Regions from separate parts of the Homo sapiens genome. Here region 1 is linked to region 2. The links are contacts of gene promoters, found by promoter capture Hi-C in human tissues and cell types (Jung and others, 2019). All regions are on one chromosome and are shown on one strand. Each heading gives the region's core, a stretch centred on a gene start or on the middle of the fragment in contact. The rest is flanking DNA. Distances are from core to core; before and after follow the strand shown.

Evidence for each region. The method cuts DNA at HindIII sites, captures the fragments that hold promoters and counts their contacts. A contact is called where the count stands out against the background at its distance.
Region 1: a fragment that was not itself captured here is called in contact with the fragment with the promoter of MLEC in region 2 in 1 of the 25 tissues and cell types used here (spleen).

Annotation. Positions count from the first base shown.
Region 1 is chr12:122,065,400-122,070,360 of GRCh38, forward strand. It overlaps LINC02985 (long intergenic non-protein coding RNA 2985), which reads left to right. Exons shown (of 4, transcript NR_135044.1): 3 at 2,629-2,792; 4 at 2,890-3,161. Among named protein-coding and RNA genes, the nearest start is that of LINC02985, 4.6 kb to the left of the region's middle. The HindIII fragment of the contact is 6,864 bases long and covers 1-4,961 here.
Region 2 is chr12:120,684,197-120,689,870 of GRCh38, forward strand. MLEC (malectin) reads left to right here and starts at 2,953. Exons shown (of 5, transcript NM_014730.4): 1 at 2,953-3,335. The coding sequence starts at 3,101. LOC105370029 (a long non-coding RNA gene) reads right to left here and starts at 2,953. Exons shown (of 3, transcript XR_945449.3): 1 at 2,658-2,953. RefSeq lists silencers at 868-957, 2,072-2,171, 3,012-3,311 and enhancers at 2,332-2,441, 2,532-2,661, 2,756-3,257. The HindIII fragment of the contact is 30,224 bases long and covers 1-5,674 here.

The DNA.
Region 1 (4,961 bases), core at 667-3,166, 1.4 Mb after region 2:
GACCTAGGCAGAAAAAGCAATCTGCTTTGCATCAGAGAACCTCAAGAGGCTCTTAATCCTGCTCTTTTCTCCCTCTGGGCTCCCTCCGTGATGAGCTCATCTGACCTCCTGGCAACCCCGAAGGGTGGTTTAGAGCAGGGAATCAGCCTCCCGATTTACAGAAAGGATAACTCAGGCCAGGGAAGCGACTTGGACAGGGTCCTGCAGGGACTCAGTGAAGGAGGCTTCGGAACCCAGCCTGTCTTCCAGCAGGCCAGGAATCAGCAAATCTGGCTACCTGTTTTTTTATTTTTATTTATTTATTTATTTTGAGACAAAGTCTCGCTCTTGTCATCCAGGCTGGAGTGCAATGGCATGATCTCGGCTCACTGCAACCTCCGCCTCTGGGGCTCAAGCGATTCTCCTGCCTCAGCCTCCTGAGTAGCTGGGATTACAGGTGCCTGCCACCACGCCCAGCTAATTTTTGTATTTTTAGTAGAGATGGGGTTTCACCATGTTGGCCAGGCTGGTCTTGAACTCCTGACCTCAGGTGATCTGCCCGCCTTGGCCTCCCAAAGTGCCGGGATTACAGGCCTGAGCCACTATGCCCAGCCCACCTGATTTTTTTAAAATAAAGTTTTATTGGAACAAGCCATGCTTATTCATTTACATATTGTTCCTGGCTGCTTTCACCATGCAACAACAGAGTTGAATACAGATGCTCTTCAATTTACAGTGGGGTTACTTCCCAGTAAGCCCATAAATTGGCCTGTGGTCCCAGCTAACTTGAAAGGCTGAGTGGGAGAATCACTTGAGCCTGGGAGGTCAAGGCTGCAGTGAACCCTGATGGCGCCACTGCACTCCAGCCTGGGTGACAGAGTGAGACCCTGAGTGAGGGTCCCAAGTAGCTGGAAGCCTACAGGTGCATTCCGCCATGCGCGGCCCTTTTTTTTTTTTTTTTTTTTTTTTGGTAGAGACTGGATTTTACCATGTTGCCCAGGCTGCTGTTGAACTCCTGGCTTCAAGTGATCCTCCTACCTTGGCCTCTGTAAGCATTTACAGGGATTACAGGCATGAGCCACTGTGCCCAGCCCTGAATATTTAATCAACATGTAAGGGTGTAGCTCAATGATTTTTCACCCACTGAACACACCTGCATGACTTGCATCTGCATCAATAAACAGAATATCACTAATCCCCAGTCCCCTTCTTATCCCTGTCTAGTCACTACCCCTCGAAGTGTGGCCGACACCCTGACTTCTACCTGCACCGATTTCTTTGGCTTATTTTTTAGCTTTACATACACAGAATGATGTAGTGTGTGCTCTTGTGTGTCTAGCTTCTTTCACTCAACATGGTATTTGTGAGATTCAGTACTGCTGTGTGAGACTGTATGTCATTCATTCTCATTGCTGGAGAATATTCCGTGGGATGAGTGTACCACAATGTGCTTATCCATTCTTTGGACATTTGAGATATTTCCAGCCAGGGTGGTGGGGAGAATTATGAATTCTGGAGGATCGCTTGAGGCCAGGATTTCAAGACCAGCCTGGGCAACATAGCCAAACCCCATCCCAAAAAAAATTTAAAAATTAGCCAAGCATGTGATACACACCTTTAGTCCCAGCTACCCAGGAGGCTGAGGTGTGAGGATCGCTTGAGCCCAGGAGTTGGAGAGTGCAGTAAGCCAAAATTGTGCCACTGCACTCCAGCCTGGGCAACAGAGCAAGATCTTATCTAAAAAAAAAACGAAACAAAAAAATGGCCTGGCAAAATCTTTGTGACTTTGGTTAGCGAAAGCTTTTTGCTAAACGTTTGCCTAACCCCCTCCCCACCGAACAAAAAAAAAACTTCTTTTTGCCTGTAAATCCATCACTTTGGGAGGCTGAGGCAGGCAGATCACTTGAGGTCAGGAGTTTGAGAACCAGCCTGGGCAACATGGTGAAACTCTGTCTCTACCAAAATACAAAAGTTAGCCGAGTGGCCGGGCATGGTACACCTGTGATCCCAGCACTTTGGGAGGCCAAGGTGGGTGGATCATCTGAGGTCAGGACTTTGAGACCAGCCTGGCCAACATGGTGAAACCCCATCTCTACTAAAAGTACAAAAAATTAGCCAGGAGTGGTGGTGGGCGCCTGTAATCCCAGCTATTTAGGAGGCTGAGGCAGGTGAATTGCTTGAACTTGGGAGGCGGAGGTTGTAGTTAGCTGAGATTGCTCCACTGCACTCCAGCCTGGGCAAAAAGAGTGAGACTCTGTCTCAAAAAAAAAAAAGTTAGGGCCAGGCATGGTGGTGCGCACCTGTAATCCCAACTATTCAGGAGGCTGAGGCCCCAGAATCACTTGAACCCAGGAGATGGCGGTTGCAGTGAGGCGAGATTGCGTCACTGCACTCTAGCCTGGGTGATGAAGTGAGATTCTGCCTCAAAAAAAAAAAAAAAAAAATTCCAAACCCACACCCATCTATTTCTTCACCCTTCTGTGCCTCAGTTTTCTTATGTGTAAGATAAAGGTAACTGTCCCTGACCTGCCCACCTCCCAGGGTTGTGTGGGAACCAGTTAGATCTGGACCTTTGAGGAAGGCTGTACAAACTGTTGAGGGCTTTTCAGCCATGAAACTCTTCTGCCCGTACCCCATAAATACAATTAGGTGCTTGCTGCAGAGGCATCGGGGGTCTCTGGCCAGAGGTGACATCTGAAGCAATCGGGATCCTGTTTGGTTTTGCCACATCCGACCTGCCGCCCAGCTGGGGCAAGACAGCCACGCGCGGCGGATGCACCGGCCCTGAACTCTTTCTCGAGTAGTCCCCAGAGGTAGCTGCTGCCTTTCAGTTTCTGCACTTGTTTATTTTCAAAGGGACGTTGCCAGACCACGAGGCCACCCTGCCCTTTCATGGTTTGTTTTATGCAGATTTCAGGAAGAGAGAGAAGAGGTAAAGAGACCAGAAACAAAGTCTTCTGCAAGCAAAGAACTGCAACAGGCCCCAGCTGTTAGGTTTGAGGGGCGTATGGGGCAGGCGACTGAACTGCAGAGTTGGAGCCAGAGGTACCATTGCTGACCCCTGAGCCCAGGAGCCTTGAGAATACTGACAGTGTTAATAATAACTGCAATCATCCAACATATGATGCTAGAATAACTGGACATCTGTGTGCAAAAATATTAAACCTATACCTTGCACCTTATCACAAAATTCACTCAAAATAGATCATAGACCAAAATGTGAAACATAAAACTAAGACTTCCAGGGGAAAACAGGAGAAAATCTTTGTGACTTTGGGGTTAGGCAAAGCTTTTTGCTAAAGACATTGATAAGAGATTGAAAAAACAAGCAGATTGCCAGATGATCTTTGCAAAACATGTATCTGATAAAAGACTTGTAGCCAGAACATATAAAGAACTCTCTTTTTTTCTTCGTTGTTCTTTTTTTTTTTTTTTTGAGATGGAGTCTCACTTTGTCGCCCAAGCTAGAGTGCAGTGGGGCAATCTCAGCTCACTGCACCCTCTGCCTCCTGGGTTCAAGCAATTCTCCTGCCTCAGCCTCCCAAGTAGCTGGGATTATAGGGCATGCGCCACCATGCCCAGCTAATTTTTTTTTTTTTTTTTGAGACGGAATCTCGCTCTTATTGCCAGGCTGGAGTGCAGTGGTGCGATCTTGGCTCACTGCAACCTCCAACTCCCTGGTTCAAGCGATTCTCCTGCCTCAGCCTCCCGAGAACCTGGGATTACAGGCACACTCCACCACGCCCAGCTAATTTTTATATTTTTGGTAGAGATGGGGTTTTGCCATATTGGCCAGGCTGGTCTCGAACTCCTGACCTCAAGCAATCCGCCCATCTCGGCCTCCCAAAGTGCTGGGATTACAGGTGTGAGTCACCACACCCAGCCTCTTTTTCCTTTTCTTTCTTTCTTTTTTTTTTTTTGAGACAGGGCCTTGCTCTGAGCTGGAGTGCAGTGGTGTGATCACGGCTCACTGCAGCCTCAACCTCCCGGGCTCAGGTGATCCACCCACCTCAGTCCCCCAGGTAGCTGTGATCATGCCACTGCACTCCAGCCTGGGCGACAGAGCAAGACCCTATCTCTAAATTTTAAAAAAGTGCAAAAATCTGGATGTAAATATTTACACTGGTCTTATTCATAACCACCAAAAACTAGAAACAACTAAAATGGCTTCAACTGGTAAATGTATAAACACGCAGTGGTACGTTCATAAAATGAAATACTATGCAGCAATAAAAAGGAATGAGCTACAGATACATGCAGCAGCAGGGCAGAATCTCAGATGTATTATGCTAAGTGAGAGAAGCCACACTCAAGGCTACTTTTTGAAGGATTCTGTTCCGGAAAAGGCAAAACAATGGGAACAAGAAACAGATGGGTAGTTGCCAGGGACTAGAATGCAGAGAGGGACTGACTACAAAGGGCAAGTGGGAACTGGGGGTGACGATGGGTACTGGAACTGGTGTGTGTGTGTGTGTGTGTGTGTTTGTGTTTGTATACGTGTCTATGTATGTATATGCGTGTGTGTATATTTTTTAAGAGACAAGGTCTTGTTCTGTCATCCAGTCTGGAGTGTAATGGCACGATCATAGCTCACTGCAGCCTCGAACTTCTGGGCTCAAGGGATTCTCCTGCCTCAGCTGCCCGAGTGGCTGGGACCACAGGCTCATGCCACCATGCCTGGCTAATTTTTAATTTTTTTGTACCAACAGGATCTTGCCATCTTGCCCAAGTTGGTTTCCAACTCCTGGGCTCCAGCGATCCTCCCCCCTCAGCCTCCCAAAGTGCTGGGATTACAAGTGTGAGCCACTGTGCCTGTCCTGTCCTATATCTTTTTTTTTTTTTTTTGACAGAGTCTCACTCTGTCGCCCAGGCTGGAGTGCAGTGGTGCAATCTTGGCTCACTGCAACCTCCGTGTCCCAGGTTAAAGCAATTCTGCCTCAGCCTCCCAAGTAGCTGGGATTACAAGCTCATGCCACCACGCC
Region 2 (5,674 bases), core at 1,703-4,202:
TAGCTGGGATTACAGGTGCGCCCCACCATGCCCAGCTAATTTTTGTATTTTTAGTAGAGACAGGGTTTTTCCATGTTGGTCAGGCTGGTCTCGAACTCCTGGCCTCAAGTGATCCACCCACCTCAGCCTCCCAAAGTGCTGGAATTACAGGCATGGGCCACTAGGCTGGCCAATACTGTGTTTATACTGTATCTGTGTTTAGATACGCAAATACTTACCATTGTGTTCAACTGTCTACAGTATTCAGTAAGGTAACATGCTGTAGAGGTTTGTAGTGTAGGAGCTATCAGCTATACCATATAGCCTAGGTGTATAGCAGGCTATCCCCATCTAGGTTTGTGTAAGTACACTCTGTGATCTCTGCACAATGACAAAATCGCTTAATGATGCATTTTTCAGAACGCATCCCTGTCATTAAGTGACTCATGACTGTATCTCTATTTCACAACTGAGGAAACTGAAACTCAGCGAAGTACATCACTTGCCCAAGGCCACACAGTGGGTAAATGGGACTAGGCATGGGATGCAGGCAGCCTGTCTTAGATCCCACGCTCGGATCCCATACCCTGCCTCCAGGGTCTCAGACTTTACGTTTTACTGAAAAGACAGCCTAATTCATGAGCAGCTGGATCTCAGAAAGGGAGCCAAGCTCCTTGGTACACAGATGGCCCAACCACGAATGGTATCTGAAGGGCTCAATAACAGGAGCCAGCCGGGTATCTTCTTCACCCTCTGGGGTGACCAAAGACACGAAGGACTGAGAGAAAGCCTTTAGAGGCCTCCCCCAAAATTTAATCCGTTTTTGTGATTGTTTCTCCTGGACTAGACTGCCTTGAGGATAAAATAAACATGAGCGCCTGGTGGCAGTGCAATACCTGAGTGGTACGTGGGCTCTGCAGGCCAACTGCCTGGAGGGAGGAAGCCCCATCACCACTACTTGTGTTTCTGTTCCCCATTTGCACCACACCCCTCCTTTGAGGGTAACTGAAGCCTCTGAGTTGTCAAGATCCTTAAAAGATGACAGTTTGAGAGAGAGAATAGTAGAATTAGAAACCCCAAGAGGCCAGGTGTGGTGGCTCACACCTGTAATCCCAGCACTTTGGGAGGCCGCGGACCCCGAGGTCAGGAGATCGAGATCATCCTGGCCAACATGGTGAAACTCGGTCTCTAATAAAAATAAAAAAAACTAGTTGGGTGTGGTGGCGCGCGCCTGTAGTCCCAGCTACTCAGGAGGCTGAGGCAGCAGAATCGCCTAAACCCGGGAGGTGGAGGTTGCCATGAGCCGAGATTGCACCACTGCACTCCAGCCTGGCGACAGAGCAAGACTCTGTCTCCAAAAAAGACAGAAAAAAAAAAAAAAAGAAACACCTTGGACAGGAAACATGTCTATGGGAGGAAGTAAGGCCAGATGCTTGCAAAATAGGGGGGAAAGTGAGACCGGGAGGGAACACTTCCAAAAGTTACCCCCATGGGGTCTGAATTTGGGGCCTGGGAAGGAATTTGGGTGCATTTAGATCCACCACTGATAGTCTCTATTTTGGCACCCTGTTTTGTTCCCGTATAGCACTTACCACTGTTCTAACTAAACAATTAATTTCATTATGGGTTGTGCAAAGTCTATGATTCTCATGCGGGACCCCAGGTGTGTTTTTTGTTCATGTAGCACAAAGCTCATTGCCTAAGTAGTAGGTAGGATTGGTAGATAAAATACAAGAAGTCCAGTTGTTTAAATTTTAATAAACAATGCATTTTTTTTTTTAGTATAAGTGGGTCCCATTTGCTTATCTGAAATTCAAATATAACTGGGCTTCTCCTATTTTATCTGCCAAATCTGACAACCCTGGTAGCAGGGACTTGATACATTTTTTTCCTTTTAGGGAGAATTTCTAAATCGACCAGTATTTATGGAAAATGCATAAGCGTTTTTTTGTTTTTTTTGTTTTTGCCTTGACTCTGCCCTACACTTGCGGTGCGACCCTTTGGCAAAATTCAGTCCCTTTCTATGCCTCAGTTTCCCCATCGGAAAAATGGGAGTTTGAACAGCGACCGAAGCGCAGGGATCGCCAGTGTGGGAGAGCGCCAGGTGAACTGTGAAGGAGCAGGGAGGGAGTTCGGGCCGTGCCCGTGCGGGACAACCCCGGTATCCACTCTGGGCACCGCCGGCGGCGACTCCCGCCAGCGCCTAGGGTGCCTCGGTCCCGCCCCTACGCAGCGGAGGCCGGCCAGAGGCCGTCGCCATGGAGACGCGAGCAGCCTGGCACCCACTCGCTCTCAAAGCCACGCGTTTCCGCTGCGTTGGAGCCTTCTCATTGGACGGCCGTCTGGACGCTACCACCCGCCCCGAGCCCGCTAAGGGGAGGGGGCGGGGCCTTATTCTCATGGGATTCGTTCCCTGGAGACCTGTGTCCGCGGCCTCTCTGGGAAAGCATGGGTCCTCTCCCTCACGCGGGGAAAAGGACTGCGTCTCTTAGGTCTGGAGAGTGTCCATTGCTTCTCCTACTAGAATTTATGCTCATGCTGCTCCCTGAGAAAAGAAGAGGGGGCGGGAAAGTCGGCCACGCCCCCTCCAGAGCCTATTTGGTCTCAGGAGCTAGAGCACCGGAAGTGCTGGCGACATGTCAGTGCGCCCTACCCTAAACCTTCCCCCCCCAGGCCACCTTTCCCATTCAGCTGTGGGATTCCGGGGCCGCCTGGGCGCTGCACCCGCCACTTCCGCATCGAACCGCCGCTTCAACCGAACTCACTCCCTCTGCGCGCGCTCCATCTGGTGCCCGACTGCTGGGCCGGCGCCTGGGAGAAGCCACGCCCTTTCCCGCGCCTGACAGCCAATGAGCGGGCGCCTCCCGGCGGGGTGGTGGGTAATTAATGAGGGCCGGGCGCTGATTGGCTGCAGCGTCGTGGCCGGGGGCAGGGCGGCGGGGTAGGTTGTTCCTGAGGTGGGAGGCGGTACCCGTGGCTGAGAAGAAGGAGGCCTGAGAGCGACATGTCCCCGGCGGCTCAGGCGGAGCGGCCCGTGGCGCTGTTTTTCTGAGTCCGGGGTGGCCTGGCAGCCGGCCGAGGACGAGGGTCGGCGGGGGCTGCCCCCGTGGTGGTGGCCGCCATGCTGGGAGCCTGGGCGGTTGAGGGAACCGCTGTGGCGCTCCTGCGACTGCTGCTGCTGCTGCTGCCGCCGGCGATCCGGGGACCCGGGCTCGGCGTGGCCGGCGTGGCCGGCGCGGCGGGGGCCGGGCTGCCCGAGAGCGTCATTTGGGCGGTCAACGCGGGTGGAGAGGCGCATGTGGACGTGCACGGGATCCACTTCCGCAAGGACCCTTTGGAAGGCCGGGTGGGCCGAGGTGAGAGTCCCCCTGCCGAGCCGCGGGATCCAGGGCCTGCTGTGCTGGGCGCAGCCGGCCGGGGGCTGCGGGCCCCGAGCCCCTTTCGACCCTGGGGCCGCGTCTCTGGAGCGAAGTTTCTCTCTGCAGCTTCTTCGGGGGCCCGCTCTGAGCTCAGGGCCTGGCACTGGCTCCAAGGTACCTAGAGTCATACAGGCAGAGAGTTGGCCAGAAGTTAGTTATATTTGGATTTCTCATCCTGCATTTTCTCAACCCCTCACTCCCATCCAAGCTGGGAGAGAAATGACGAAGGCGGCCTTTTGCTACCTCCAGGCCTCGCGGGTTGTAGGTCATGGGTGCCCCTGCTTCTCCTGTCGAGACAGTTCTTGGGAGATTCTCGTCGACCCAGGAATCGGCCGCTTTCCTTGCCCCTTCTGCAGGAGCGGGGCTTGATTCTTAGCCAGAATAGGAAGGAATCTTCGAAGAGAATGGGCCAGGAAAGTTTGATTGTAGCCTCCTCCCCCGCCCTCTTTTCGAGCGAAGAATATGTGTGCTTAAAAGTAGAATCGGCAGGCCGCCCCCAGAGGGTGGTTCTATCGAAGCCATCCTGCACGTGAGGCTGGTGGCTGTGTGTGAACTGGGTCAACCAGTGTAAGAATCCGAATGGTCTATCAGAGAATGCTTACAACCTCCCCTAGGTGATCCTGAGAGTTCTAATTCCAGCTTAGGGGGAAAATGATTGTGACTTAACTTGCTGGGCAACAGTGGTTTTTAACGGAGCTGCTCCCTTCCCAAAGTTAGTGTGTGTCAGAATTGCCAGGGCAGCTGGTTAAAAATGCAGATTCCTAGTCCCCACTCGAAATTGATTATAGTAGATTGAGCTTTTTTGCTGGGATCCAGGTTTCTGCACCAGGGGCTTGTGATGTAGGTTGCCCCGAGACCACCGTTTTGGAAGATCAGCTTTATAATCTTTGTTTCTTCTGTTGGAGGGATTGGAAAACAGGTTTCAGAAGGAAGTTCTTTGCTAGGAGATTGATACTGTATGCTGGGTTCAGAGGCTACCAAATTGGCAGTATGCCACCTCCAGACAACCAGGAGACAGACTCACTCTTCACTTTCTCTCATTCTTTTTCTGCGATGCCCAGATTTGGCTCTTGCTTTTACTAAAATAGTTAGTTCTTCCCAAGTCGATTGCAGTGTCCTGGAGTTTGTTATATTAAGGAGTTTATTGCCTTTCACACATGTGAGGGTCTTGGGACACAGGGCTGTTTTGTGAAGTTCTATGTTTGTCTTGGAGTTTGTTGAGCCCTGGCATGTAGATCACAGTAGCCTGGGTTCAGCTGACTCAGGGCTCCAGTCTTTAGCAGCGGTAACAGCAGCCAAAGCCAGACTTTATAGCAGGAGGTCATTACTATCTCTATCCTGGACCCTTCCTCTTTCTTCACGAGTGTGGGCAGGGAGGAAAGAGCCCTTGAGGAAACTAGACAGTTTGTGGACTTTGCCTCTTGAGATAGCGGTGGTGAGGGTGCTGAGCGGATGGTTTCTTTCACTTAGCAGATACCAGGCCTTACATTGGTTACATCGTCCTATTCAGTCTGTTGTGCAGAGAATAAAGCCGAGTAAGACCACACAGGTTTAGTTCCCAGATACTGCCCTTATTCAGAAATTCTGGTTTTAATTTGCTGATGCAGGTGGTGTGTGTGTGTGTGTGTGTGTGTGTGTGTTTCTTTGGCTTGGTCAGCAGTCAGCCAAGATCTGTGTCCTTGGGTTATTGGCTCATGGTTGCAGTTCCTTGGAAGGAGTTTATTGTAGCAGGTAAAATTACATGAGACCTACCAAAGCTTGTGTGTACTGGAGTCCTATTTCGGACACTGGCCCTTGGGGCATTGTATAAATGAAGGTTCCCTGCTAAGGTTCCCCTCTCCATTCTACCAATCTGGGTAAGAATTGGAGCAGTATTAAGGCATGGATGGGGAGTGGGAGGTGGCGCTTGTCAGCTGCAGTTTGGACCAGCTTGTTGCAACATTGCGCTTACCAGGTTCCTGAGAAAGGCATTTTGCTGGCTTTAGGTCGGGCTGAGATGCGCATAAGCTTGCACTCTCAGGAGGCAGCTCTCTACTAAGGAGTCAGTCCTACCAAGGGAAGTCCAGCTGTTCACACTGCCTTTCTTCTGGGCCTGTTTGGATAAGGGTGTGCCAGGTATTTGAAGACCCTTGCCTCGTGCAGCTATTTACACTGATTGCAGTAGGAACTGTATGCCTTATTTCTTTTCCCGCCTGCCTGTGATATTGTTTCCAGCATGCTGAGAAAAGTTGATTTTATGTTGAATGAATTCAGGTATTTGTTACCAAGTTAGTCCA